Regions from separate parts of the Homo sapiens genome. Here regions 2, 3, 4, 5, 6 and 7 are each linked to region 1. Evidence: promoter capture Hi-C in 16 types of primary human blood cells and fetal thymus (Javierre and others, 2016). All regions are on one chromosome and are shown on one strand. The core of a region is centred on a gene start or on the middle of the fragment in contact, and the rest is flanking DNA. Distances in the headings are between cores, read along the strand shown. Region 1 holds the start of DLEU1 (deleted in lymphocytic leukemia 1). Region 2 overlaps DLEU7 (deleted in lymphocytic leukemia 7). Region 3 has its middle 25 kb from the start of DLEU7-AS1. Region 4 has its middle 44 kb from the start of DLEU7-AS1. Region 5 has its middle 68 kb from the start of DLEU7-AS1. Region 6 has its middle 130 kb from the start of DLEU1-AS1. Region 7 has its middle 110 kb from the start of DLEU1-AS1.

Region 1 (4,266 bases), core at 525-3,024:
CCACGGGGAAAAACTCTGTAGGCAGGCAGTCCTAAAGAAGCGTGTCACCGCGGTTCCCAGGAAGCGTTATTCCTCTTTGCGAACAACTGAACAGAATAGCTGCTGCAGAAAGCATCTCCGGAATATTTGCAACCCAGAGCCGTGCGCCCCACACGCAATACACCGGCAAAGGGTTAATCTAGTGGTGCCTCCAGCGCGGAAAAGAACTCAAGATCTAATACATCCTTAACGCGGGATTTTTACAAAGGCCATAGAAGTATTACCTAAAGTTAATGCCGTCACTGGCTCACATCACTCAAGAGCTGTGGAGTAAGAATTGATAGAAACCACCAGCTAAGGGGGAAAAAAAAAATCACCGAAGGGAAAGACAAATAACAACTCTCGTCCCTCCTCCTCAGCGTCAAGAAAAGGTGGGGATCGCAAAATTACCGTTAAGTTGTCCGGGTAAAGACTTTTGGGGGAGGAAAACATTAATAGTTTCACAGATTGCTTTTTTCCTTGCGACATGTTTCAAACACCGGAGAAGAAAAAAGTCTTCTAAGAAAGTGCGACTCGGAGGAAATAGCCACGAGAAGGAAATCGTTAGCTCGAAGCCCCATCTTTCATCTCACCCGTGAACACTCCTCCCCTTTGAGAAAGGACAACGCTGCGAGAGCAAATGACAAAAATCCCCAGAAAGAAGCTAAAGTCCAGCATCTTTCCTAAGAGCCCGCTACAACCTCAAAAGCCTGCCCCTGCCCCATCTTGGAAGCGCGAGCCGCGGCCAGTCCTACCTACCTAGAGACCTCACCGGGACCCAGCGCGCCGGGGGAGGGCAGCCAGGGCTTGGGAAACTCTTTCCTGGGGCACCTCACGCTTCAGCGTCAAAAGACAATATAGATAGATGGGTGCCGGGCGGTGGCGGGGGGGACTGTTGCCACGACCCACCGGAGGGACCCATGACTCCGGGTCCTGAATTTTCTGTCGACCTTAAGTTTCTTGTCACGAGATGACGGCCATCACCGGGTCGAGAAAACGGCGAGAAAAGGCGGCCCGGTTCGGAAATGGGGGAGGGGCGCGCGTCCAGTCCTCCTGTCAAGGAGCGGCCGCCTGCAGAGACCCCGCAGTGCGCCGTCCCCGGCTCCGGTCCCGGGCGGGGGGTCTTGCTGACAGATCCGCTGGGCGGCGGCTGCTCCGCCGCAGCCGGTCCGCGTCCCGCTCAAACTGCAGCTCCCCTCCCCCCACAGCCCCGTCTCTCCGCGCTCCCGCCACATTCCGCCCGCCGCCGCCCACTCGCAGACGCCCAAGTTGCCCCTAACCCTACTTCCTCGGATTTTTCGCGATTAAGTGAGAGTAGACCCCGCGCCCACTCCCTGCACCCACCACTGCCTGCGGGTCCCACCACTGCCACCTCCCGAGTCCCGCTCTGCTACTTCTTCAGGCTCTTACCGACTGCGCCAGCCTTGGCGAAGCTCCGCCGACTGCCCTTTGCTCCAAGTAATTTTTGGCGATTTTTAAAGTAATTTTTCCGGCGGAGTCATAGTGGCGCTATACTCTCGGACAGGTTATCCTGTCTCTCCCGCTAGATTGATGAGATCAGGCATCACTCGAAAATGGCGCCGAAAGCGCTGAGGCTCCTCATTCAAATTCGTTAGAGCCAACCCCGCCGCCCCAGGGAATGCCGGGAACGCGGGCTGCCTCCACAGCTGTCAATACCGCCTCTTAACCCCCCTTCTCTTGCTTTCCCGACATTTTTACGCATGCGCAAACTCCAACCCTCCCCCCTCCTCCCGCCAGGCACATGCGCAGAATCATCGTGGTGCACGGCTCTCCCTTTGCTTCTTCGGTTGCAGTCCTCTTGCTTCTTGCGCGTGCGTGTAGCGCTTTTGCAAAGCCGCGGAGGTGAAGTGAACTTAGAGGTTGTGGGGCCGAGGGGTCGTCTTATAGCTACCAGCCCACAGGCATTTAGTCTACGTTGGAGGTAAACAAATACGGGTCCTGCTTAGGAGAAAAGAAAAACGTCTTACAGCCAGTGTCTAAACTCCAAACAACGGAATGTATCAATGAGACCTTGTATATGGATACACGTGCATTTAAAACCGCCCTGCCGGCTTGTAGAGCTTTTGCCGTTCTCCAGCGCTTTACAGGGGTTATCGCACTTAAGCCTCGGAACAACTTTACCAGGTAGGAACTATTACTGTTCTCGTTTTGAAGACCAGGAAACCTAGGCTCAGAGACGTTAAGTAATTTGCCCAAGACAGCACAGGTGGCACAGAAGTGGATGAATCCACATCTGTCAGATTCAGCAGCCCTGGAGTTCTCTACCACGCTGTACGATTCAACCTGAGCCCACACAGGAGGCGTGGTCTCCTTCTTCAACGGTGTGTGTGTGTGTGCGCGCGCGCCTGCCTAGAGTTAATGATTAAGTTTGCTGAAGCCCTTCTTCCCGGTCCTAAGCTGCCTGTTGCGAAGGCGCTTTCATTGAATTCAGTTTCTCTTACCGTCTTAACTTGTTCATAAACTTTTTGAGATAGGAATGGGCAGTTTTTCTGTGTCACTTAGGATGATTTTTTTTTTTAATGGCGTGATAAGTGAACTGAATCCAGCAAAGACGAGTTTCTGTTGTGCAACACGTTGGTATACTGACAGCTACCACGTATTGACTGTGTACTGTGTGCTGGGCACTGTGCTAAATAAATGATTTACGAATTAATCGTGTTTATTGCTCACAACAGCCTTATGAAGTAGGTATTATCTTCACTTTACAGATGAGGACACCTGAGGTTCAGATTAAGAAATCTGCCCCAAAGTCTTAGAACTGGTAAGTAGAAGCACCATATCTAGGCAAACCTGTCTACCTTCAAAAAAAATGGGCACTCTGATAGGACAATTAACGATAATAAAGTTGTAATTTTTTTTTTTTTTTGAGACGGAGCCTCGCTCTGTCGCCAGGCTGGAGTGCAGTGGCGCGATCTCGGCTCACTGCAGCCTCCGCCTCCCGGGTTCAAGCAATTCTCCTGCCTCAGCCTCCCGAGTAGCTGGGACTACAGGCAAGTGCCACCACGCCCAGCTAATTTTTGTACTTTTAATAGAGACGGGGTTTCACCATGTTGGCCAGAAGGGTCTCGATCTCTTGACCTCGCGATCCGCCCGCCTCGGCCTCCCAAAGTGTTGGGATTACAGGCGTGAGCCACCGCGTGGAGCCCTATAAAGTTGTAAATATTTTAAAACCTTCATTGTGAATGTTAAATAAGAGAGTAGATATGAAAGTGCCTGAAGTACTAATAAGGAAGTGGGAGAAGGGTAGCATGGTTTGCATTATTTAAGTGTCTTGGAAAAGAAATGGATTTTAGCAATTTGAGATCAGCAAGAAGTAACGTGGCAGAGTAGTATAAATACACTACTTAATCTCTGGTACTTTTTTGCACTACTTAAGTGGGTCGACTCTGGAACCGAGCTGCCTGGGTGAATCCCAGCTCCACTACTTACTAGCTGTGCCTTGTTGGGTAAATTATCTGTTGGACCTTTTGTAAAACAAGTACTATTAATACCTCATTGGACTGTTGTAAGGATGTAAATGAGCTAACATATTAAAGGAATTTCAACAGTGCTTGGCATATTAGTAAATGTTTGTTATTGTCAGTCAGTCATTGATCTTTTAAACTGGCTTCTTTAATGGTTGTTCAAAAATCAAACTACAGTTAGTGCCTTTAGGGGTCAGCATTTTTTTTCTTTTTTTTTCTGAGAGGGAGCCTCACTCTGTTGCCCAGGCTGGTTGGATCACTGCAACCTCTGCCTCCCGGGTTCAAGCAGTTCTCCTGCCTCAGCCTCCCATGTAGCTGGGATTACAGGTGCGCGCCACCACGCCCGGCTAATTTTTGTATTTTTAGTAGAGACGGGGTTTCACCATGTTGGTCAGGCTGGTCTCCAACTCCTGACCTCGTGATCTGTCTGCCTTTGCCTCCCAAAGTGCTGGGATTATAGGCGTGAGCCACCGCGCTGGGCGGGGTTAGCATTCTTATTCAAGAGCTCCTTAAAATGATAAATCAAACTGACAAATGATTTTTCCCAAATATGAATAATGATCCCTGTTAGGCAAATAAGGATGTTAATTTATTTTACCATCTCATAAGAATAATACCTGGAAATGGAATAGATTTATTGCTTTTTCTGATTGTTAAGGTTAAAAAACCGAGGCCCATCTAAAATATATATAAAGTAAAAATCATCCAAATTTCTAGCATTCAGGGATAACCACATATTGTTTGTACTTTAAAAATATAATGT
Region 2 (4,266 bases), core at 910-3,409, 750 kb after region 1:
ACATGCAAACCAGCTTTTGAAGAACACTGGTCTGGCCCACACGCCTGAGCACCTACTCAGCACCAGACTGCAAGCTTGACTCATTCTATACTTTGTCTCACTCAGTGCTCACCACAATCCATGATAGATGAAAAGAAATGTGGCTTGGGGAGAGTACGTGATGTAGCTAAGTAACACAGCAAGTTAGTGACAGAGTTAAAATTAACTTCTGCCAGGGTTGAAGCAGAATTGATCGTGGTGGGTAAACTTTTTGATGTGCTACTGGATTCAGTTTGCCAGTATTTTACTGAGGATTTTCGCATTGATGTTCATCAGGGATATTGGCCTGAAATTTTCTTTTTTTCTTTTGTCTCTGCCAGGTTTTGGTATCAGGATGATGCTGGCCTCATAAAATGAGTTAGGAGGAGTCTCTCTTTTTCTACGATTTGGAATAGTTACAGAAGGAATGGTATCAGCTCCTCTTTGTACCTCTGGTGGAATTCAACTGTGAATCCATCTGGTCCTGGGCTTTTTTTAGTTGGTAGGTTATTAATTACTGCCTCAATTTCAGAACTTAATATTGATCTATTCAGGGATTCGACTTCTTCATGGTTTGGTCTTGGGAGGGTATATGTGTCTAGGAATTTATCAATTTTCTTCTAGAATTTCTAGCTTATTTGCACAGAGGTGTTTATAGTATTCTCTGATGGTAGTTTGTATTTCTTTGGGATCAGTGGTGATAGCCCCTTTATCATTTTTATTGTGTCTATTTGATTCTTCTCTCTTTTCTCCTTTATTAATCTGGCTAGCAGTCTATTTTGTTAATCTTTTCAAAAAACCAGCTCCTGGATTCATTGATTTTTTGAAAGGTTTTTCATGTCTCTATCTCCTTCAGTTCTGCTCTAATTGTAGTTATTTACTATCTTCTGCTAGCTTTTGAAGTTGTTTGCTCTTGCTTCTCTAGTTCTTTTAATTGTGATATTAGGGTGTCGATATTAGATCTTTCCCACCTTCTCCTATGGGCATTTAGTGCTATAAATTTCCCTCTAAACACTACTTTAGCTGCGTCCCAGAGATTCTGGTACATTGTATCTTTGTTCTCATTGGTTTCAAAGAACTTATTTATTTCTGCCTTAATTTCGTTATTTACCCAGCAGTCATTCAGGAGCCAGTTGTTCAGTTTCCATGTAGTTGTGCGGTTCTGAGTGAGTTTCTTAATCCTGAGTTGTAATTTGATTGCACTGTGGTCTGAGAGACTGTTTGTATGATTTCCGTTCTTTTGCCTTTGCTAAGGAGTGTTCAACATATGCAAATCAATAAATGTAATCCATACACAAACAGAACCAATGGCAAAAACCACATGATTATCTCAACAGATGCACAAAAGTCCTTCGATAAAATTCAACAGCCCTTCATGCTAAAAACTCTTAAGAAACTAGGTATTGATAAAACATATCTCAAAATTATAAGAGCTATTTATGACAAACCCACAGCCAATATCATGCTGAATGGGCAAAAGCTGGAAGCATTCCCTTTGAAAACCAGCACAAGACAAGGACACCCTCTCTCACCACTCCTATTCAACATAGTATTGGAAGTTCTGGCCAGGGCAATCACGCAAGAGAAAGAAATAAAGCGTATTCAAACAGGAAGAGAGGAAGTCAAATTGCCTCTGTTTGCAGATGACATGATTGTATATTTAGAAAACCCCATCATCTCAGCCCAAAATCTCCTTAAGCTGATAAGCAACTTCAGCAAAGTCTCAGGATACAAAATCAATGTGCAAAAATCACAAGCATTCTTATACACCAATAACAGAGAGCCAAATCATGAGTGAACTCCCATTCACAATTGCAACAAAGAGAATAAAATACCAAGGAATACAAATTACAAGGGATGTGAAGGACCTCTTCAATGAGAACTACAAACCACTGCTCAAGGAAATAAGAGAGGACATAAAGAAATGGAAAAACATTCCATGCTCATGGATAGGAAGAATGAATATTGTGAAAATGGTCATACTGCCCAAGGTAATTTATAGATTCAATGCTATTCCCATCAAGCTACCATTGACTTTCTTCACAGAATTAGAAAAATCTACTTTAAATTTCATATGGAACCGAAAAGAGCCTGCATAGCCAAGACAATCCTAAGCCAAAAGAACAAAGCTGGAGGCATCACACTACCTGACTTCAAACTATACTACAAGGCTACAGTAATCAAAACAGCATGGTACTGGTACCAAAACAGATATATAGACAAATGGAACAGAACAGAGGCCTCAGAAATAATGCCACACATCTACAACCATCTGATCTTTGACAAACCTGACAAAAACAAACAATGGGGAAAGGATTCCCTATTTAAAAAATAGTGTTGGGAAAACTGACTAGCCATATGCCAAAAACTGAAACTGGACCCCTTCCTTACAGCTTATACAAAAATTACCTCAAGATGGATTAAAGACTTAAATGTAAGACCTAAAACCATAAAAACCCTAGAAGAAAACCTAGACAATACCATTCAGGACATAGGCATGGGCAAAGACTTCATGACTAAAACACACAAAAAAAATGGCAACAAAAGCCAAAATTGATAAATAGGATCTAATTAAACTAAAGAGCTTCTGCACAGCAAAAGAAACTATCATCAGAGTGAACAGGCAACCTACAAATGGGAGAAAATTTTTGCAATCTATCCATCCAACAAAGGGCTAATATCCACAATCTACAAGGAACTTAAACAAATTTACAAGAAAAAAACAACCCCATCAAAAAGTGGGAAAAGGATATGAACAGACACTTCTCAAAAGAAGACATTTGTGTGGCAAACAAACATATGCAAAAAAAAAAAACTCATCATCACTGGTCATTAGAGAAACGCAAATCAAAACCATAATGAAATACCATCTCATGCCAGGTAGAACGGAGATCATTAAAAAGTCAGGAAACAACATATGCGGGAGAGTATGTGGAGAAATAGGAATGCTTTTACACTGTTGGTGGGAGTGTAAATTAGTTCAACCATTGTGGAAGACAGTGTGGTGATTCCTCAAGGATCTAGAACCAGAAATACCATTAGACCCAGCAATCCCATTACTGGTTATACACCCAAAGGATTATAGGTCATTCTACTATAAACACACATGCACATGTATGTTTATTGCAGCACTATTCACAATAGCAAAGACTTGGAACCAACCCAAATGCCCATCAATGATAGACTGGATAAAGAAAATGTGGCACATATGCACCATGGAATACTATGCAGCCATAAAAAAGGATGAGTTCATGTCCTTTGCAGGGACATGGATGAAGCCATGAAGCCATCATTGTTAGCAAACTAACACAGGAACAGAAAACCAAACACTGCATGTTCTCACTCATAAGTGGGAGTTGAACAATGAGACCACATGTACACAGGGAGGGGCATATCACATACCGGGGCCTGTAGGGGGGTGGGGGGCTAGGGGAGGGATAGCATTAGGAGAAATACCTAATGTAGATGATGGGTTGATGGATGCAGCAAACCACCATGGCACGTGTATACCTATGTAACAAACCTGCACATTCTGCACAGAACTTAAAGTATAATAAAAAAAATTAACTCCTCTATTTCAGAACTCACTCATCAGACTCGGCCCAGATCCCAAATGATGCCAGGTGCAGTAATGGCTCACAGAGCCAAGCTCAGCCATGTAGTGTGGGAGACAAGACTGGCAGGAATTATAGAGCTGTAGCTGCTCCGGTGGGGTGACAGGGGCTTCTTGGAAGCAAGTGGGAGAAGCACTAAACCAGTTTTGGGGATGGAACAAAATGCCTACAAGTGAATCGTTTCATGTTTCTTTTTTGGCCATCTTCACACTATTTTTCTTAAGGTTGACTGAGTGTTATGAGTGGTACGAAGCTCAAAAATTGGCAAGGATCACATCCAAATGGAAGACTGGCCTGTTGGCCCATCCCTCCTCCCTGCAGCGTAATTGAGAGAGCTTGGCTATTTGAAAGATATTCAAGGCATCGAACCTTCTACACCCCATGTAAAACCAACCCTGAGCTAATCAGAAACCGCCCAGCTGGAGGTTTCCTTTCCTCAGCTCTGTTCTCTCCTACCCACTGTGAGGGATGTCTCTCGGAAAAACCGCCACACTGTGTACTTTTCTGCATTCTGCATTGTGCATTTATTAGGAATGCACACATCTGGAATTCTTGAACAACTGAAAATGCACCTGCAAAATCTTAAAACGGAAGACAAGTTAAGCCTGTTTTTAAAGCTTGGTACTGAAAATAA
Region 3 (4,266 bases), core at 1,261-3,760, 700 kb after region 1:
TCACCAAGGACTTTTTGATTTAAAACCTGGATTTATTGGCATTCACGAATGTGAAGGGTCATTTTGTTTTTTACTAACGACTCATTTGTTGAGAGCAAATATCAGTTTGCAGACTTCTGAAAACAGCATTTACTAGTAATTTGCAACACATTATCATGTGGGAATCAGATTACAGCTAAGGAGCCCTCATAAAACCAGCTTTAACAATTACTACGTTTCTGGAGAAATATATGTGCTCTTTGCCTCTGTGAGAATGCAGTCATTTGCCTTATGTGGAATTGGGGTGGAGGGAGAATACCATCCTCAGGCTACATAGTTGCTGAAGTGAAATAAACTCAGTCCAAAAAGTAAAGTCATCATTGGTCCTTTCCCAAAAGGGTTCCCACAGAAACGAGGTACGGCACAGGGCAGAGGGAGGTGGAGAAGGCCTGTGGTCAATCTCACAGAGATGGAATCTGTGAGTGTGCAAATGCAGAAGGGGCAATCAGAGTCTGTGGCCAGGCAGAGAACAGGCTGGGAGTCAGTAAGTGTGATATCTCGCCTTCCTGTCTCCGCTCGTTTCCCCTGTTCTGCCAGATAGGTTTCCATTCCTCCCTCCCAGAGCCAGCACTCAAACACTGGCTTTCTTCAGATGAGTTCCCAATCCATCCATCTGTCCATCTATCCTTGGGTTTGCTCAAGCAATCAATCAAACATGTTCTGATTTTCTGCCTGCATTTTCTTACCCAAATAACTGGAGAATTTCTGCCTGCCTTCCTTAAATGGCTATTTTTCTAAATCAAGTTGGTAAATATCTATAAAGCAGTGGTTCTCAGACTTGTTGGTACTAAAACCTCTATACACTCAGTAATTGTTGAGAATCTCAAAGTGCTTTTGTTCATGAGGGTTGTACCAATCAATATTTACCATATTGGACATAGGCCACTTTAGAAATTAACTAGAAAGTAGAAAGGAATGTTTAAAACACACAAAAATAGCGAAGCACATTTGACCAGCCATCAGAGAAATGCTGTCATCACATGTCACTTCGCCTCTGGAAAACTCCACTGTATACCAGTAAGAGAATGAAAGTGAAAAAGCAAATACCATCTTAGTAACTGTGAAAATAGTTTTGAACTCCTGGACCTCCAGGAAGATCTTGAGCACCGCCAACATCCCTAGACACTTTGAAAACGGCTGCTCTAGAGCATCTGCAAATGGTCTTCCTGCCTCAGTCCCTTGTTCCCCACATCACTGCCTCGTGGATCTTCCTAAAACACACATTTGATGGTGACACTCCCCTACCTGGAGCCCTTTTTATGGCTCCTTATCATCTGTGGCATAAATTATCAATAGCAACCATGATCTAGACCACGCCTGTCTTTGCCGGGAAGACTCCTATCTGTCCTTCGCATCTCAGCTCAGAACACTAGGAAGTTGTGATAATTTTGACAAGATTTTGCCTTAGATGAAATAGAACAAATAAAAAAAAATTCTACTGAATTGTTTTATTTGCAAATATTTGTGAGATTAAAAAATAGATGGCTTTGATTTTAAGATTTTATGTTAGAAGTCAGAAAATCTTGAAATTTGATGCCAAGAGCCCACTACACTTTTAGGCTCTGTAAGCCATGAATATCTTTGAACATTTAGTATGTCCTTCTCCATATGTATTCAAACTGTGGTTTTATTTATATGCATAGTGGCTGCCCTCTAGAATAAAAGCATTTCATCTATCTCTTTCCCCCATACCCCCAAAAAACTTGGCTCAAATGTCATATATTTCAAGAAGCCTTTCTTAACACTCTCTTCCCTCCGTTAGTGGTCTGATCATGACTCCTCACATATCTAGAAAACCACCTCCCTCACAAAGGGTCTGTAAGTCCCTTGAGAATAAAAATCATTTTTCATTAGTCTTTGTAACTAGACTTTAGTACAGTGACTGGCATGGTTCCTGAAACAAAAGCCATTTCCAATAAATGGCTAACGGAAATCAGACATGTGCATATGTTGTGTCTTTGCCATGGTAATCATTTTCCCAGCCTCTGTGCCATCCTCCAATATAGCTCTTTTCTCAGCATCTAAGATTCTGTTGTTGGCAGTGTGATATTCTCAAATAGCCATAACCAAAACTTTAGTCATCTATGAATTCTCCCTCACTCTCAACCTCCTTGTCCAAGAAGCTATTGCGACCTCTTCATTTGATCTCTGCAATTTTATCTCCAACCATTTTATCCTTTCTGCCTTCCCTTGCCATGGCTTTAATTTGCTTCCTCATTATTTCACACTTGACCATTAGCACAGCCTCCTCATCTTCTACAAAATAGCCCTAGTTTCCATATAGTGAGCTTCTTGAAGTCAGAAGATTTATTCCTTACCATATTCCTAGCATATTGCACAGGACTCAAAATTGTCTTTTGAATAAAAATGTGAATTCCCACCCATCATATACACTGTCTACAGAAAAAAAAAAAAAAAACTCTTCAGGATAACTTCTAATCATGTCCTTTACCTATTCAAACATTTTCTGTGTCTTCCATTAATTACTGAATGTAGCAGATGCTGTTGGTGCCTGGGTCCACCTCCCCTCAGCCTGCGTTCACCTACAACATGAGCTCCCAAGACAGTTTCCCACTTCAAAGGCGTGTGTCTCTTTTCTATTCTTCCTAAAAGTTTTCTCCAGCATCAAGGGAGCTTGTTTTACAAAAGGTATAACCCAGAAGTTGGGAAAAGTCAACACTGCTGAGGGCAACCTCAACCAATAGGGGTTGGGAATCACTTGCTGAATTCCTCAGTCTCCTTATCTCCGGTAGATGGATTCTAAAGTGTGTTTCTCCATTTCTCAGGGGGCCCAGCAGGGCTGAGCTCCCATTGCTCACAGCAGCAAATCACTCATTTAACAAATGTTTCATTGGTTTCTCCCTTCCCTATCTCACTTCCCCTACTTCTTCCCTTTTGTGCCCCCAGAGATGGCCTTCCAAATAAACTATCTGAACCAAACAATGACATGAACAAAATCTAAACTTCCTGGCCTATCATTCAAAGTACCCCAATAGCTTGATTCTAATCTATATTTTCAGGTTACGTCATCTTACACATAATCTTACACAGAGTCCACCCTCTGGCCAACTGGAAGCCTTGTTGATCCCCAAACCATCTCACTCCAAGTTATAATTATTCTGTAGTTTCATTCACTTAGAATGACACCACTATGATTAGCTTAGACCAGTGGAGCTTCCCTCCCTAGTATGGGGAGGGACCCAGCCGATACAACCTCTCAGAGGAGGGTGACTGCAGTGAAGTCCTGTGAGCAAAAGAAAGTACAGGCTATAGCTGATGGATTGATGGCCAATAGCGTCTCTGCCACAAACAGGTAGCAGGAATGTAAAACATAAAGAAAATAGGTGCTCACAAATTCAACACAAAGTGCTGGAGACGTACTGGTGAGCTGAGGTGAGTCCTCTGAAATTTACTCCAGCAACAGACACTTTTTTACACACCCATCCCCAGCCATCAGTCCCTGATCCCTGCCATAGGCTCTCCCCATGCTGGCCCATACCACGCCCAAAGGAACACATATAGAGATATGGCCAGGCCCTCTAGGCCTGTGCTGTGACTGCTCTGCCAGAACAAAGATCACAGACTTACCACTCCCTGTTTTTAAGAGGTTGCCAACCCTTGCTCTTGCAAAGCCGTAAGCTCTAGCTTCAGTTCAGCGACCCGCCCCCTGTGTTTTGCCAGGCACATGGATTTCTGTGCAACCTGGATGCAGAGAGTTTCCAAATGTCTAGAGCTGTGAGATGTTAATCAAACGTCCACTTGAAGTGCTTTGGAAGCACTTCTGCTTTTTGGGTTATTGATGTGCTCATGTTGTATTAAGATATATTTCTGGTGCAATCATGAATTCACTTCAAGACATATTAAAGAAGGATTTTTTCCTAGCTGCTTACTTCAGAACATTGGTCCCTACAGACCAGGTATTTTTCACAGCTCCTTAGAGGCCCATAAAAAGTGATGGAAAAATGCAGCTGGGCATCTCATGTGGAAATCAAACCTACTGGAATTCCATCTGCATATCTGCCTTAACTTAGCTTGGTTATTGGTTCTTCTGAATTGTTCACTGCATACCTCTCCCCAACTTGTTTCCATCTCAAGGGAGGAGAAGCAATGGGAATTTTCGATCACATTATTCTCCAAGAAAGATGTTTGTGCCCCCAGATAATGGACATTTCCCTCCACAGAGCATGTCACACTCAGGAGAAGTGTTCAAGTGCATTTTCTATGGGC
Region 4 (4,266 bases), core at 1,000-3,499, 680 kb after region 1:
TAACTTGAAAATATTGGGCCGGGCACGGTGGCTCACGCCTGTAATCCCAGCACTTTGGGAGGCCGAGGTGGGTGGATCACAGGGTCAGGAGTTCAAGACCTGCCTGGCCAAGATGGTGAAACCCCATCTCTACTAAAAATACAAAAAAAATTAGCCAGGCGTGGTGGTGGGCACCTGTAATCCCAGCTACTCGGGAGGCTGAGGCAGAGAATTGCTTGAGCCCGGGAGGCGGAGGTTGCAGTGAGCCAAGATCGCACCACTGCACTCCAGCCTGGGTGACAGAGCGAGACTCGTCTCAAAAAAAAAAAAAAAAAAAAAAGAAAAGAAAATATCAGTGATACAGTTTTGATTCTCTAAAAGACTTATATGTTTAGTTCTGTGTCTTCCCAGGGTTTCTGACTATGCAATGTTTGGGGATTACGACTATCACAAGCAGGGATTTTAGCCAGGATGCTGACTGCATGAATTAATGCCTACTCCTGGAGCATTATAATTAAAATACAGACTTATCATTCTCAGAATCTAGACAGCTCATATCCCTGCTGTGCTCACGGAACAGGGTAAAGCCCAGGTCGGAACCTATCCTGGCTGCTGCCTCACTATTATGGGTGGCATTTCTTTGCCTCTCAAGGCCTACAAATGTCTTTTTCATCTAAATCCAATAGCTTTGAACTTGATGGAAGCTTGCATTCTTTTCACAACTTTTATGGGTGTCAACACATTAAATGGAGGAGAAAGAAAGAAGCTGTATACATCTTGAAGGCGGGGATTAAAGGAGAAGATGCCACCAAGGTGGTTTAAGAATGGAACTCTTCCTACCCCAGGCCACCCCACAAAACAAAACAAAAAAACAACAAAAACACACTCTCACACTGAAGAGGTTAATCTCCTGCCCTTTATTGTGCTAGAAAAAAAAAAAAAAAAAGCAACAGCCGCCTCCCCAAGATTACAAAAAGTCCCCCTGCATCCAGGAAAGATCTGCATCCAGGAAGGGATGTTGCAGGGAGAGAAAGAATCACAGGTGAAAAGATAAAGTTCTTCCCACCAGTGTGCCTCCAACTGGTGGAGAGAAAGTGCCCTGCAGACCCACAAGTGCATATGTAATGGTAGCCCTAGGTCTGCTTGGGTCTTTAGGAAAGGAGACAACACCAGAGAGGTGGGAAGGCAGCTGCCTGGCAGTTAATTAAAGGAGAGCAGGAGAGATCACCAACTGCACGCAGAGGGACAATGATGTGTGAGATGCAGAGGGGTGTGAGATCAAGCAGCAGCTCGGTACTGCTGTGGCACTGATGTCCTGGGGACGCTGGGGAGGGCTCGAGTTATGAAGGATCCCATTCATTGTAATAAGGAGGCTGGATCTAGTCCTAAAAGAGATTGGGAACCACTAACAAATGTTAAGCAGAGAACTATGATCACATTTGCATTTTAGGAAAATCAGTCTAGTGTGAACAGCAGGGCAGGAGAGCTGGCTGAAGACAGGAAGCCCTATCAGAAGACTGCTCTGCAGTTATTCAAGTAAGACATGATGAGGGCCTGCATCAGAAATCAAGCCTGTGCAGATGGAAGAAGAAAATGAACCATGCTTTAAGAAGATGAACATAGAAAGAAAAGTGCAAGACCCTGGGTGAAGCAAGAATGTTCAGAGTCAGGAGTTAGGGAGATCATGTGAGTGCCCTAAACAGCAAAGTGGGAAACAGAACTGTCAGAAAATTCTGCAATTCACAGAAAATAGAATTCACCTCTGAATGAAATACTCAGCCAGCCACACTGCCCTTCCTGCCCTGACCCTTTTGACATGTCTTTTACCAATCCTAGCTCCCGGATCTGCCCTGCAGGCTTCCCAGTGACCTGGCCCAGCCCCATCTTCCTTTCAGAATCAGCCCCGTCACTGACTTGCTGTCTGACCAGAAGCCAACCCCATCATCACTCCAGATCCCAGTTTCCACATCTGTAAACTGCAAACAACACTAGTATTTCCCAGGATTGCTGTGGGGACTAAGTGAGACAGTGTCTGTGAAAACACCTGATAAATGTCTGTAAAGCACCATAAAATGGGAGGTGCTGTTACTGATGAAACAAAGTAAGAGACAATATTAAAGAAGAGACAGGCGGAAAGGCTGTGTTTATAGTCCCGCACTGCATTTAAGGCACTGCAGGTAGAGTGTACTAGAACGCACATGGGCTTTGGACTTGGCCAGACCTGGGTTTGAATCCTGGTTTCAGCACTGTCGCGCTCTGTGATCTTGAACAAGTCCACTCACCCCTCTGAGTCTCCATTCCTTCATCTATAATATAAGAATTCCTCCCTTACAGTGTTTTGTGAGAATTAAAGAGTTAACACATTACAAGTTGCATCATAACATATAATCATTCATAGTTGCTTCTGTGAACTCCATAAAAGGAGTTCAACAGTCTTGGTTTCCTTCTTCCACTCCTATATTATTTCTTCCTGAAAAATAATATAGTTCCACCAGAAGCTCATCTTTTCTGAACTGGTCTGAAGTTTTGTGTTCTTCCTCCCATTTCCAGGAGTCATTAACTAACAACGAACAAAACCTCTGGATGGCCGAAGGACCTAGGCTATACAGAAAGCTGTGAATTACCAATGAGAACGCAGTGAGTCAAAAGAATAATGGAATTAAATAAGTTCAGAGGCTTTAAGTGTTTCTTAAAACACTTATCTATGAACCCCTAATCTTAGTCATTTCTGGCACAGTTGTTATTCATAAGCATTTGATCATCATTCATAGAAGACTGAACAAATTAACACAATGGATTGTCTTGGAGATGAAGGGGCAGTGTACTATTCCATTTAGCTTGTTCAGGGAACTTGAGTCAAATCCCTTGAGTGTTCACTCCATCAGATAGTCCATGAAATGCTGATGAAGATATAACAATTATCCATAAAGTTAGAGTGTTCACTAATTAAGAATACTGAAGAATGAAGTATATTAAATGGGTCATGTTGCACCTTTTTTGGGTTTGTTTTGTTTTGTTTTGTTTTGTTTGAGACAGAGTCTCACTCTGTTGCCCAGGCTGGAGTGCAGTGGGGCAATCTCGGCTCACTGCAACTTCTGCATCCTGTGTTCAAGCAATTCTTCTGCCACAGCCTCCAAAGTAGCTGGGATTACAGGCACGCACCATCATGCCTGGTAAATTTTTGTATCTTTAGTAGAAACAGGGTTTCACCTTGTTGGCCAGGCTGGTCTCTAACTCCTGACCTCAGGTGATCCACCTATCTCAGCCTCCCAAAGTGCTGAGATTACAGGCATGAGCCACTGCCATGTTGCACCTTAGAATGAATTTGTGTTTGTGATGTAGAGGAGAATTTATTCAAAATTAAGAATCACTAAAGACAGGGTATTATTAGGAAATGAAAAATGGCTTTTACTCCAATGACTCAAATAGCACTGCATCCTTCACATTAATAAGATGTTTCTACATGGAGGACTTTAGAAAGCGAAGCCTGAAGGGTGCAGACAGGGGAAGGAAAAAGGAAGATAAATGGAAGAAGACAAGGGAAGAGAAAATGAGGAGGAAGGAGAAAGAAGAGGAGGAAGGAGAAAGAAGAGGAGGGAAGGAAGTTTGGAAGAGGCTGGAAGAATTTGTTTTCTCCACATTCTGGTTCCCAACTTGGTCCTCTTCTGGCAATAATCAGGCCCTGGGGGAGAGAAGAGTAAAAGACAGAAAGGGCAAAGAAGAGAATAAAATAAACAGATAGAAAGGAAGAAGACCAGGAGAAATGTGAAGGAGGAAAGAAGAAATGTAGAAGACACCGAGAACACAGATATGTTAAAATGACACTAGAATGAAAGTTAAGCTTAGTTCAGCAAAAGTTTTGAACCCCTCACATGTGCCAGGCACTGTACTGGGAGCCAGCAATATGAAGATGAAGGAGACATGGCCATTGTTGTGGAGGCACTCAACAGGGAAGAACCAAGGTTGAGAAGACAGCAAGTGAAGGCCAAGAAAACTTGCATTGCGTGGATTATTTGGAGGCTCAAAAGGGGTCAAATGCTTTTTCTCTAAGCACTTTTAGTGATGAATTCCCATTTCATCTAATGTGGTTTCTACTTGACATTAGCTTTTGGACTTTTTCAGAAGATTTCTTAAATGTACTCTTTAGTAGGAGGGTTGGGGGTGGGGTGGAGAGAAAAGGATGCGTGTAGCTTTGCCTCAGCAAGTTTCATTCCCCTTCCAAACAGATGTTGTCTGGCTAGAGCAACACAGCATAAAACATGACTACTGGATTTGGCACAAAATGTA
Region 5 (4,266 bases), core at 1,018-3,517, 660 kb after region 1:
GACACAACAATATTGCAGTAAAGCCAATTAGTAACCCTACAGTGGCCTCTAAGTGTACAGGTGAAAGGAAAATGTCTCTCTTCCTTTAAATTGATGTCTCTTGCTTTAAAGTAAAAGCTAGCCATGATTAAACTTAGTGAGCAAGGCCTGTAAAAACCCAAGATGGGCCAAAAGCTACAGTTGCACCAAACTGTAAACCAAGATGTGAATGCAAAGAAAAAAATTCCTGAAGCAATTTAAAAGTGTTACTCCAGTAAACACACGAATGATAAGAAAGTGATTGCTTATTGCTGATATGGAGGAAGTTTGAATGGTCTGGATAGTAAATCAAACCATCCACAACATTCCCTTAAGCCAAAGCCTAACTCAGAGCAAGACCCTGACTCTTTTCAATTCTGTAAAGGCTAAGAAAGCTGCAGAAGAAATGCTTGGAACTAGCAGAGGTTGGTTTATGAAGTTTAATAGATGAAGCAGTATAACATGTTAATGGTAGAATTTAGATGGTGAGTTCTTAACATAAAATTATTTCAACTTTTCTATATGTCTGAAATTTTTCATAATAAAACATTGGGAAAAAAACCTCAGCAGTAACCACTGCCATTGTTTCAAACCTAGACTCACAAGATATTTTTTGGGAGAGGAGTATTTTATCACTGACATTGTTTAGAATTGCCAGTACATGGTGATAATAAAAAGCAGACCAACGTTCAGTCAGACTTATTCTTGTTTTTAAATTCTCAATGGCAATGCACATCTTATTGCCTGCACCCAGGGTAGGCCCTCCTACTGCTTTTGGTACATGATTAGTGTCATGGAATTGGAAAAAGTGTAATGACAAGAACCTGCCTGATTCCAAAGTTCTTCCCATGCCAACAAACTCTTTCCACATTACCCTGCTACCTACACAGCAAATCATACAAAGATGAAAAAGATACAAATCTTGCCTACAATGAGATCATAGTATAGTGGAGACAGATCCATACTTATATATTTGTGATACAAGATGAATATCATGTATTTTCAAATAACATGCTGGAAGAAAATGGGGGAAAGTTTCTTGAAAGAGATAGTATCTGAGGTGTACTGTGTTGGCTACTTAAACTCATGCGATGTTCATAAGCTTAAGCTGAAAATTCTTAACATGATCTACAAGTTCTTAGGTGATCTGGTCCCTTTCTACCTCTCTATCCTCATTCTGGACATCTCCCAGTGAGCAGCCTCTAAAAAATAATACACACACACACACACACACACACACACACACACACACACACGCACACACACACAAACACTGGCCACACTGGCCTGATTTCTGTTCTTCTTATCATGTTCTTTCCTGCCTTGCGGCTTTACCAGGGACCTACCCTACCAGGAATGCTCTTCCTTTATTTCCTCCTCTCCTCCCACCTAGCTCAATCCTACTCATTCTTCAGCAGTTAGATACAAGACTGCTTTCTCAGTAAATTCTTCTCGGACCTCTCAGGCTGGGTTGCTTCCCTTTTTTTCTTCTTTGGGACACAGAACACAACTGTTACTATACCACTTCTGTGTAAATTTCATTGTGGTCCAGATTAGAAGATCTGCATCATCTGGAACCAAATTTGACTTGTTTCCAACAGTAACCCAGTAGGCATTCAATAAATGTTTGTTGACTGAATAGACCTTCATGGCCTAGTAGGTGAATCCATGAATGAACAAAGGGCAGGCCTTTAACACTCAGTTATGAATGGAGATGAAGGCAAATGCCATCTGGAGACAGGCAAACCTTGAGCCAAAACCCAGACGGGGAAGGAATGAGAAGAGAAACAGAGACATGGGTGTTAGGTACTTTCTGAGACTGATTTTTTAACTCTCAAGAGGCTTTTGTGCTTATCCTGGAGGGGACCAGATATGAACTACCTTTTGTAAAAAATAGGTGGATTAGAGGAACGAGAGAGAATCTGCAAAAATTCTCTCACCAGCCATATCTCTAATTAAAGTTTCTAGGGAATGTTCTTTTTCTGCTACATCTCACAACACCAAAGAGACCAAAACTGGGATGTGGCCAGATCCCTGAGAATTCTCACTTTCTTATCAGCACAGTCCAACCCTACCTAGTCCCTTTTGGCCAAATGCTTAGATACATAATGACACTAGACTCCCTGTTGGGGGCATGTAAAGCTTCCCAAAGAAATGATTCTAGATGCCTAGATTTTTTTTTTATTAAATCAGAAATGGGTTAATGAATGGTAGGGCATATAGAGAGAGAATGTGTAGAGAGTTGATCCCTGCCTTGTTGTCGAGACCACACACTAGTTCATTGATTTCTGCTCCATTTCCTTAGTCCTGACAGGAATTTAAATGTTTCAAGTTCTTTTAAGCCTGAAAATGTTTGAAAAGCTTTATTCCAAAAAGGTGCTTACACATTTTTTTCCTGCAGTATTTAGGCTTCTATTTATTGATCCCTTGGTACATTCCATCCTGATGATGGGCAAATGGGAAAAGGATGAAAACTGAAACGGTATGCACAACAACCTCAAACCATAATAGTGTAACAGTAAACCATTCTTTCAACATCTGGAATCCTGTGGGCAACTTTCCTAATAAGAAAATCAAGTCAATTTAAATCCATGTCCACACAAAGACTTACAAACCATAGGCTTATTTCTTTTAATCTTTTCTGAAGTTTCTCTGTGACTAAACCTGAATTTCAATTTCCTGGTGTGCATAAAATTAGGATATTAGACTAATGGAGTTCTGCCTACTCCCATGACAGATAGAACAGGCATTGCTAATCACTTACAGAAAACTTCACAAAACAGTATACCAGGCAGTCACTACCATTCCACTCAAGACTACACATGAGCTGAAATCTATTTGCTGTCCTGGAACAAAGAGGTCCCCAAGCCTTTTTATCGCTAATCTCTGAAGTCTATGGTTCTAAAGGAAGCCTATATGAGGCGATAGTCTCAAATATAGAAACATATAAATTTACAAGCTCTCAACTTAAGAACTTTCACAGATGCAAACAAATGAACCAAAGCAAAAATGCATCCATTCTATTAAAAACCCTTATTTTAATAGTATTACTTTGATCTTATGAGTAAATGAAACCCCCAACCTTTTTGGACTGTTCCTGCTTATAAGTGAAAAGCCTTCTGTACGCCACACTTTTCTTTTCCATTATCCTCCTTACATCCTCAATTCTTCCTGAACTCATAGAAACACTTGGAACAGCCTTGTTCATCCTGGGCCCCTCTCCTCTCTACACTGTGGGCAACTGTGTCCCTACCACCACCTGCTTCCCCATCAAAATCTGTCTCAGAGAAGATCTAATAAAGTCAGCCAAGCTGAGGTATAGCTGAAAGCTAACATCTAAACAATCTTCTCTTCTCAACGTATTTCTACTGTATTAGGAACAATGCTCCAAACAGAAGGGATGCATTTCTACTTGTAGAATTATTTTGTTTTCCAATTAGAAGAGTTAGAAAGTTATTTGGAAGAAGCAGCAGGGGAGAAGGGCCTTCTCAGTTCCCCTAAATTATTCCCTGAAGATGTATGCCTAATCCTCCTCCTCAAATGCCAGCTTTATATACATCTATTAAAATACCTGGAACATCTATTCTGAAGATATGGCTCATGAACCACCTAAATCAGAAAGCCATGGGTATTTGGGAAGTATGCAGATGATTGAGCTCTTTCCTCAAACTAAAAATCTAAATCTCTTGGGCTGGGCCCCAGGAATGTGCAATTCATCAAGCTTTCCTACTCTGACCAGGGGAGTTCTTATACAAAAATAAATTTCAGGACAACTGTTTCAAAGTAAAGGCTCAGTACCTCTATCTACATCAACATTTACACTTTTCCTGTTTTATTGCTGTTTCCCAGCCAGATTATAAACTGCCTGAAAGCCAAGACCGTATCTCATATTTTAAGAATTCCCCATAGCTGTTCCTACCTTAGCTTTTTAATAATTTTACATTTGAGGAGAGCTTTCTCAATTAATATCATAAAAGAAATAGCATTTCTCACTAGAAACCATGATAATTCAATGAAGTGGGCATTAATCAGATATTTAAATTAAATATGAATTAAGTAAGAATCCAAAAACACAGTAACTCATTGGCCTTTGTCCATTTTACAGACTTTTCTTTCAGTTTTTGCATGGGAGGGCCAAATGCACAGTACGTGCAAATTGTCAAACTTAGTATGCTCTTCAGTACATTAGTATGATTTTATTATGTATTGCAGCCAAATTTACTTTCTTCAGAATTGGAAATGATCTCA
Region 6 (4,266 bases), core at 1,323-3,822, 570 kb after region 1:
CAAAGGCCAGGGTAGGAGTTCAGATCTCTATTGTTCAGCCTCATCCTTTTCTCAGAATCTGTGTTTATATAAGACACTGACACACTCATCTCATTGAATAAAAGACACAAATATTTTATTTCTTATGAAATGTTCAATAGACCATAGATTTCATGGGCTGGATTACAACATAGAGACACCCTACTTTAAGCTGATAAAATACATGAAATACCAAATTCATAGTTAAGGCAATGTACAACACAATTACTTGCTTTATAAAAAAAGTGGCCGTAAGACACTTTAAATATGTATACTCTAGTAGAGAAATAAAATACTACAATTTCTTTATTCAAATAAGTTGAACTATTCCCATTATGAAAATAGTAGAAAAATAGATCAGGAACAGAGCCAAGGAGCTGCCCAAAGCGGTATATACATTCTCATTTGGGAATGTGGACACCTCTAATTTCCTTTGGAACCTCAGCTTAATCTTATTAAATTTCCACTAAAATTCTCTAGGGGAATTCAATGATGGGGTTAAAGGGTCAAGTTTTCTCCGGGTTTTGCTACTTCTTAGTGAACACTTTGTGGCCTCTGGAAGTGGAGGGAGCAAAACCTCAGAGAGTGCAGAGTCCCTGTGTGCAGAGAGGGCAGCAGCTGGGTGTCTCATCACCTTGCAGTTCTCAACCTTATGTGGTGGGGGGTGCCCCCGGGTGACTTAGTCCTGCGGGCCAAGACTGCAGGCTGCTGCATGAATAAAATAGACCATGAGTGAAGTCTGATTCTGCAGGTGCTAGCTGAAAGCCCACCACTTTCTCCCCTGCTCAGGAAAGTGAATTAGAATGCTAGTGAACAAAAGAGCTGTTATCATAGGGATGTCCTCTTATTGGAATCTACACTCAGAGTTTTTATATATGTTACCTAAAAACTTTGGTATACTCTAACTGTTTGTAGTGATAACTTACTCGTTCCAAACTCCCTCCACTTCCTGAGATCTGCTGGTGCAACCTGTTATTGTAAGAGTATGGGATGGGGACCATGGAGGCATTTCCCTGTCCCCTCTCATCCAGAGTGAGCTAGGCAGGGGTAGCCTTCCCTCTGGACGGTTTCAGGTCCCAGCAGGCTTCCAGGGAGGATGGGAGCTGCGGGAGGGAATATGCAGGGAAGATTGTTGCAGAATCTGGAAAACTGCTCTCAGCTTTCATATTTTTTGAGCTAGATCCTCTTGCCTCAGGCTGCCCTTGTGTAGGTAGACACCCACCACTCCCACCCTACCAGGTTTTGTTTTTGTCTGTTTTTTTTTAATTTATTCTGCTGCCAATGGTCTTCAAAGCATAAGAGTTTTCATATTTCTGAAACATCACAGAACCTTCTAATTAGCAATATTTGACCACAAGGAGTTGCAGCTTCTTCTATATATCTCCAAAATAGCTAGACTTTTGCAAGTTTTTAAAACCCAAATTTTAATTTGTGGGCATATTCTTTATTTGTACTAAGTTACAATAAGCACAAATTCTTTTGTAATATTGAGAATTATTTTTAAATTGACCAAAATTATTCACTAAAGAATTATTTTCCTTAAGAAGAAAAGAAAATATTGTAGCAACAAAAAAGGGGGTCTTGAAAGATTAAAAATCTGCTGATATTCCAGCTTTACTCCTCTCCCCTCCCCTGGCTTCTGGGGCCACCTACAGAATTCAGGCTCCTTGAATGGAAACTATTCTGGAACATGGAGTGTGGGGTGGGGGGCAGGGGGCTGCTTTGGTACAGCAAAGCTATGTGTCTATTTGAACAAAGGGAAAAGAAAAATGATTTCATTGTCCATGAAGTGTCTTCAAGAAAAATAAGTCATGGGGAGGTCTGGGACAAGGGCTTCCAAACCTGGTTTTGCAGAGTCCCCTTTGGGGACAAGAAGTGGAGATGGGGAAGAGAGGAGAAGGGGGGCAAGAAAAGGTTGACTGGGGCAACTTCAGCATCCCTCTCCCGACCAGAGAAACTCCACTTTCAGGAAAACACGAATTATTTCATTTTATTCAAACAACTGTGTGTATAGGTGTATAGGTGTATAGATATTTTCCAGGCTCATTATTTGATATCAGTGCTCTAAATATTGTCATCTAACACCAAATGCAATGTAAAGTTTTTGAGAAAAATCAATTGCATTTCTAAGAAATTGGCAAAATGACCATTCTCCTATCTCCTAATATTACTGTTACTACAGAGAATGGAGCAAAGTCTAGATTATTTAAAAATTGAAAGTAATAAAACTTTTTTTCTAGGTATGGGTAACTGCACTGGCTATTGAGAGATCAAATGATATGCACCTTCAGGAACTCTTCCAGCAAGAGCTACTCAGTGAGGAGACATTCATCATTAGCACATTCAGAAATTATAGCTCTGATATGTTTTCTGGGTGGCCGGATGCAAAGGATCATCCATAGTTATGAAAACTCAAGAACAGGGAAGTCAATTAGTATATTTATAAATCTGTATTCCTCTCCTGTCAAGGAATCTCCCTGTATATGAATGATAGCTGTGTCCTTGATTTGAGTAACTCTTTTTCCTAATCAAAAGAAACTCAAATGAACAGGCCCATATGTCTTATCAGAACAAACTATCCTGTAATAAAATGGAAAGAGGTTTTGAAAACTTGATTGTTAGTGTCCATTAATATCTTTCAAGCAGGTACATGGTATAGCATGTAATTATAAATACAGATTATAATGGCAGGCAGTATTATCCTTTAGAAAAGAGGGGATGAAACTAAGTAATTCCCTTCTCTATACTAGACACTTGTTGAAGCAAAGTCTACCACGATCTGAACTCCTCAAAGTGCATATAGTCTACTAAGGGTATCTGGCTTTTACAATAAAAAAGGTACCTTATGTTATAAAACCCGTGCTCAATAGCCTTATTTCTGGTGATTAGGAGAGGCACCAGTGGTAAAAGGCTCAGAGGAATGGCAGAAGGAACATGGATTTTGGAATTTGACTAGTCTAGATTCAAATCCCAACTCGTAACAGAGTCATCTTGGTAAGGTATGAAGCCAATATTTCATAAGTCTTATTTCCTCATTTGTTAAGTGAGAACAAAACTCCTCATCTCATAACGTCAAATGAAATAGGGAAATCATCAAGTTGAGACTTGATGCCTTGCGTACAGCAGACACTCAAATATATGAGGTTAACTTCTTTCCTCCTCTTCTTACAGGCAGATTAAGAAAGGATGTGTTAACTTATCCAGTGGTTAAGGTTAGGAATCTTGAAGATTCAGCAAGTCTCCCTTTTCGTATTTTTCTGCATGGTCCAGAATGCAAGGCTAATATCTGGAGAGTGCTTGGGCATTCCCAGATGGAATACTGATGATAGGGGCTGCATCAGGCCGTTGATCCCAGTATTACCTGTTCACTAACAACAATTTGAACTTCCCATCTTCTGGTTCTGCTGAAGTGTGTGAGGTCCCTGGGTGTTAACCTGCCTGGGTGATGACACTGCCCATCAGCAGTGATGGAGCCCGTAGCAGTGGAAGCATCTTTTAGAAGATCTTTGAGTTCCATTTCTTTTGGAGATGAAGTAGGGAAAAATCGGTTTGCTTGGAAACTCTTGCCATTTGGCAGGTATTTTGAAAATTGAAGGAAGCATTGAAATTGGCTTGGAATTATCAAGCAGCTCCAGTGTGTTTTAAATATTAGGCTTCCTCATGCAATTTCATTGAAAAAAAGATTTCTGTGACGCCAAAGAATTTGCAAATTAGCAGCATACTACAAGAGAGCTGTATGGAGTCTGAGAGTAAAGGGTGTACTGCCCTGGGTCTACCCTGCGTTCTGCCACTAATTTGCTGTGGGACACTACTGCTCTGTGTTAGTTTCTTCAGCATCAGAAAAAGAAAAAGAAAATACACCTTAGGGCATGAAAGAATATTTTAAAGGCCTAAAGCAATATATACATCATAGACATCATTAGAGACCAAGTTCATTTTGTCCCCAACAGACTTTTTATTGTAGTTTTGATTTAAATTATCTCAATATCATAATTACTTTGATGGCCCAATCTCAAAACATAGCTAAAATTAATTAGGTCAGAGTAGAAGAAGCAGAATATCTTTTTATTGCTTTTTTGTTTTTAATAAGCACTTAGAACATCCCTACTTCTTTCAGTTAAAGAAAGGACATATATTTGTATATAAATTTGCTTTCTTGTCAATTCCCAAAAATATCTTCATGAACCAAATCCCAAAAATAATTAGAAAAAAATTGTTTTCAGTTCCAACTAATGAATGTTTCCTGTG
Region 7 (4,266 bases), core at 891-3,390, 550 kb after region 1:
CTGGCCTCAAGTGATCCTCCTGCCTCAACCTCCTGAGCATCTGGGATTACAGGTATAAGCCACAGTGCCCAGCTTCCTTTCCTGTTTCTGAAGATGATGTGGAAGAAGTCGGCCTCTAAATGAAATGAAACGCCAATGCTCTAAGACTTAAGACTGCCAGGAAGTCTCATAGCTCTGCAGTCTAGAGACCAGCTGGTCCAGCACCCACTCTGCCTTCCACTCTGCTTTTTCTCCACACCCTGGTCACTTCCATGGAACCTCCTTAAGTGTGCTGGTCAGGCCCTGGAGTGGGTGACAGAATGCTGGATGATGAGTCTGTGCCTAAATCCATGTTTAGCTGGTGGAGTTGCCAGCTCCTTTCAGTCTAGGAAAAGTCAAAAGCCACTTTGGGTTAGATACCTTCTGTTCTTCATGAGTCCCTTGGCTGAACCTTCTCAGTTGAGCAAGTGCAAGGTGAGCACACGCTGTTTGCCCTTTTCTGTCACCTGTCTTAGTTCCTTGCCCTTTTCCATCACCTTAGTTTTCTGTTAGTACACAAAGCTCAGAGACGAAGTGAAGAAGTTTGCAGAAAGAGTTCTGAAGTCTTGTGAGGGAAAAGATTCTAGACCCCCAGCCATTCCTTCTCTGCATTTGGAGTTTGGGAAACCTGTCCTGGTAGAGCAGAGTTGCCCCATCTGATAATTCTATATGTTCAAGTGAGAGAGTATCTAGAGCAGCAGTCTCCAGCCTTTTTGGCACCAGGGGCCAGTTTCGTGGAAGGCAATTTTTCCATGGACCCGGGGTGGGGAGATGGTTTCAGGATGATTCAAGTGCATTCTGGTTTATTGTACACTTTATTTCCATTATTATTACATTGTGATATATAATGAAACAATTATACAATCTGACATAATGTAGAATCAGTGGGAGCCCTGAGCTTGTTTTCCTGCAACTAGGTGGTCCCATGTCGGGGTGATGGGAGACAGTGACAGATCATCAGGCATTAGACTCTCATGAGGAGCATGCAACCGAGATCCCTCGCATACACAGTTCACAATAGGGTTTGCACTCCTATGAGAATCTAATGCTGCCTGCTGATCTGACAGGAGTCAGGGCTCAGGTGGTAATGCAAGCTATGAGGAGCAGCTGTAAATACAGATGAAGCTTCTCTCACTCACCTGTCACTCACCTCCTGCTGTGTGGCCCAGTTCCTAACAGGCCACAGACCAGTACCAGTCTGTGGCCCTGGGGTTGGGGGCTCCTGGTCTGGAGAGTATAGAGTAAACTCTAACAGGAGTGCAGAGGCTGACCATGGCACTTTGGGATGCTGTGGGGTGGAGAGCCTTGCTTTTACCTCAAAATATAAAATTGTATGCCCCAGTTAATCTGAGTAGGAATAATATCATTGGCTCCCTTTAGCATAGCTGTGATAGGCTGAGAGCACTCTCAGAATTTAATTAATTCTCAAGGAAAATCAATGGGGGAGAAACACAGATATATAAGATAGGATTCAATTTCCAAAGATTACCTTCTGATCTGGTCACATCAGGTGCTTCCAGGCCTTAAAGGCCTTATCATCTTTTCAAAGTCACATTGTCTTGACATGCCTGTATCCTATCCCGCATCGCTATAATTTTGTGGAACCTCATCTGTGACTCTACTTCCTAAGTCTGAGCATGTTTATGACTAGAGAGTACCAGGTTAACAGCAATTTTTCAAGAGCTATCTCAGAAACAACTGGAAGCTTCTGAAATCAGGGCAAAGAAATTCCAGTTCCCCATTGTCCTCCACCTAGGGCTCTCCTTCTGAGTTCAGTTTTCATATGACTCTTTCCCAGGTGTCTTTTTAATTACCGTAACGTTCATATAACAAGACTTCTGCCCTGAAAAGATCCTTAGAGTCTGTCAATTCCAATCTGTTCCCTTTACAGAAGAAGAAATGTTACAGAGAGATAGAGATAAGAGAAAATGCAGTGAAGAATCCATACCCTTTTGTATCTTTAGGGCAAAGCATTACAGCAAACATAGGGAAATGAATAGAAAATTATAGACACTTTGGAGATGTCATAGTCTAGAATGAAAATTCCATGAGCCATCTGGCCTCTTCATTGCTGTGTCTCTTGTTCCTCTCTCATGCTAGAAACTCAAGACATTTTGTATTATTGAAACTGTGACCCAAACAGTTAAAGAAACCAGTGACTAGATAAGAAAAGAAAAAACTTGCTGAAATGCGGAAACTCCCTCTGCTTGCAACATAACAAACCTAGCTGAAATCAGTTGGAACCAATATGGCCAAATGGAGTCAGTGCAGAACGAGCTTGCTGATGTCACAACCCAAATTTCCACTGCATGTTTCACACTAACTTCCCCCAAATTTGCAACATGTGACCCATGAGGAAGCGTGCAGAGATAACTGTGTGTGCCAAGGATTTTCTGGATCTCCCCTTTCCTTCCACCAATCACCAGTTAATCTCAGAATCCACCCCTAACCCTTTTCTAATAAAAATACTGCCTTAAAGTCAGCACAAGGAGACAGATTTGAGCTGAACTTCTGTCCCCTTGTTGGTCGACCTACAATAAAAAGCTTTTATTTTCTCAAAACCCCAGTGTCATAGTATTGGTTTCTAGCACTTCAGGCAGCAAGGCCTTTTGCTTGGTAACAATATGAATAAATGTCAAACTTTGTTTAAGTAAATTACCCACATAGATACCTAATTGTGGAGACAAGCAGAATGAGTATGTAAATTACCCTGGCCTGAGAGCTTTCTCTGGGTTGCCTGGCAACCAAGGTAGCCTGAAAGCCCCACCTCTCCTAGGAGAGGCTACAAGTTCTCATAGGACCAGGGACATTCCTTTCTCCAGTGGGAGTGGCTGTCTCAAACTAACTTCCCACAGGTTTAGGACCCCTAAAGCCTCCAGGTGCTGAGCCTCTGGCATTTCCTAGCAATCCCCTAAACAGCTAGAACCTAAGCTCAGGCAGCTTAGTAGCTGAGCCCAAAATATTGATTTTCTCAGACTGCTCTCACACCAAGAGGCTGTAATTCAGAGACAGACCCCACTCCTATAACGATGGAAAACAACAGGAAGTGGGATGTCTCCCTTGCCGCAAGGCCCCTCAGTGTGTTTGTCGCTGCTCTGGCCATAGTCCGCCTCTCTGGGGATGCCAACACAAGAAAGGACACATCACCTGCGGACCTATTTGTGAGTTTCAGTCTGCTCGCTGCTGGTTACCCACCCCTTGCACCAATTCACAACACCACGAGTTAGAATAGAATCATTGTCATGTTTAGAACCTGAAGCTATTCTCATTGTACCAATGTGGTAACTGAGGACCAAATAAATTGAGTGCCGGTCGTAAGTCATGTGGTAACTAATGACAATCAGGAGTATATCCCAAGCCTCCTGGGTGCTTCCTCAGATCAGTTATTTGGTCACTTAGGGTGAAAAAGGGTGATTAATGCATGTATTAGGGCTTATGGGGTGGAAGGACCTAGACATAAGCTTTTGGAACTGCAATAGCCCTCCCATAGATCATGGGAAGTCTATTACCCTCCCAAGGATTTCTGCAAACTCCTTATGGGCTGTATTTTCAGAATAATCTTCAGTATCCATTTCTGCTGATTAGATCTGTTTCTGCTGATTAGAGAACTCGGTATTCAAATTTCCAGTGGTCTCATAAATACAATTTTTAAAGTTCAGTTTCTTTGAAACGGGATTCAAATAAACCAAACTTTAAAAATTATATTTGTGAGATCACTGGAAATCTTGTGACTAGTGGATATGTTCCTAAGTCTTTATTAATTAATAAGTTCTATTTCCACCTCTTGTTATGTAGTCCTTTCAATTTATCTGTTGAATAAGCCAAGGTTTCCCACAGTTTGGATTTTGTCAATTGTATCCTTGTGGCATTAATTAATATGGTTCTCTGTTAATTCATTAGGGATTTTTTAAATGGTGTTAGTCTATGTTACTTCTTCATTTATTAGCCAGAATAATAACTTCTATAAAGAGAAACTTTCCCTGATTGACCGTTATGTTATTCAGAGCTGTTTCTAATGGGGAAGACAGGATAGGTGCTTGATTCTCTCCCTTAATTTGTCTGTTTTCAATAATGAAAAATATTTGAAGATAACTACTGAGTTTTTTTAAAAAAATTATGAAGTCATGAATTTAAATATATTTTGCATCTTTTAGCTAATTGCAGTCTTTGTGCTATTTTTTTTTTTTTTTTGAGATGGAGTCTTGCTCTGTTGCCCAGGCTGGAGTGCAGTGGCATGATCTCGGCTCA

What was found. The method cuts DNA at HindIII sites, captures the fragments that hold promoters and counts their contacts. A CHiCAGO score of 5 or more calls a contact.
Region 2: a contact is called between a fragment that was not itself captured here and the fragment with the promoter of DLEU1 in region 1, in 1 of 17 cell types (fetal thymus). The highest score is 8.9, in fetal thymus.
Region 3: a fragment that was not itself captured here is called in contact with the fragment with the promoter of DLEU1 in region 1 in 6 of 17 cell types (total B cells, megakaryocytes, erythroblasts and 3 more); the score reaches 9.6 in total B cells.
Region 4: a fragment that was not itself captured here is called in contact with the fragment with the promoter of DLEU1 in region 1 in 2 of 17 cell types (naive B cells and total B cells); the score reaches 9.4 in naive B cells.
Region 5: a contact is called between a fragment that was not itself captured here and the fragment with the promoter of DLEU1 in region 1, in 1 of 17 cell types (total B cells). The highest score is 5.2, in total B cells.
Region 6: a contact is called between a fragment that was not itself captured here and the fragment with the promoter of DLEU1 in region 1, in 1 of 17 cell types (fetal thymus). The highest score is 5.9, in fetal thymus.
Region 7: a contact is called between a fragment that was not itself captured here and the fragment with the promoter of DLEU1 in region 1, in 2 of 17 cell types (total B cells and naive B cells). The highest score is 8.8, in total B cells.

Annotation. Positions count from the first base shown.
Region 1 is chr13:50,080,395-50,084,660 of GRCh38, forward strand. DLEU1 (deleted in lymphocytic leukemia 1) reads left to right here and starts at 1,775. Exons shown (of 7, transcript NR_109974.1): 1 at 1,775-2,163; 2 at 2,748-2,800. The region is part of intron 1 of DLEU2 (deleted in lymphocytic leukemia 2); the gene reads right to left. RefSeq lists enhancers at 227-286, 1,904-2,699 and silencers at 919-1,213, 1,077-1,296, 1,697-1,746. The HindIII fragment of the contact is 5,734 bases long and covers 1-4,266 here.
Region 2 is chr13:50,831,611-50,835,876 of GRCh38, forward strand. All of the region lies in intron 1 of DLEU7 (deleted in lymphocytic leukemia 7), which reads right to left. The region is part of intron 3 of DLEU7-AS1 (DLEU7 antisense RNA 1); the gene reads left to right. Among named protein-coding and RNA genes, the nearest start is that of DLEU7, 9.9 kb to the right of the region's middle. The HindIII fragment of the contact is 4,175 bases long and covers 73-4,247 here.
Region 3 is chr13:50,780,333-50,784,598 of GRCh38, forward strand. It overlaps a transcript of DLEU7 not described here. Among named protein-coding and RNA genes, the nearest start is that of DLEU7-AS1, 25 kb to the right of the region's middle. The HindIII fragment of the contact is 5,542 bases long and covers 1-4,266 here.
Region 4 is chr13:50,761,893-50,766,158 of GRCh38, forward strand. It overlaps a transcript of DLEU7 not described here. Among named protein-coding and RNA genes, the nearest start is that of DLEU7-AS1, 44 kb to the right of the region's middle. The HindIII fragment of the contact is 3,137 bases long and covers 682-3,818 here.
Region 5 is chr13:50,737,731-50,741,996 of GRCh38, forward strand. It overlaps a transcript of DLEU7 not described here. Among named protein-coding and RNA genes, the nearest start is that of DLEU7-AS1, 68 kb to the right of the region's middle. The HindIII fragment of the contact is 219 bases long and covers 2,159-2,377 here.
Region 6 is chr13:50,651,453-50,655,718 of GRCh38, forward strand. No RefSeq gene overlaps it. Among named protein-coding and RNA genes, the nearest start is that of DLEU1-AS1, 130 kb to the left of the region's middle. The HindIII fragment of the contact is 6,749 bases long and covers 1-4,266 here.
Region 7 is chr13:50,633,414-50,637,679 of GRCh38, forward strand. No RefSeq gene overlaps it. Among named protein-coding and RNA genes, the nearest start is that of DLEU1-AS1, 110 kb to the left of the region's middle. RefSeq lists enhancers at 2,064-2,263, 2,660-2,954 and a silencer at 2,660-2,954. The HindIII fragment of the contact is 839 bases long and covers 1,722-2,560 here.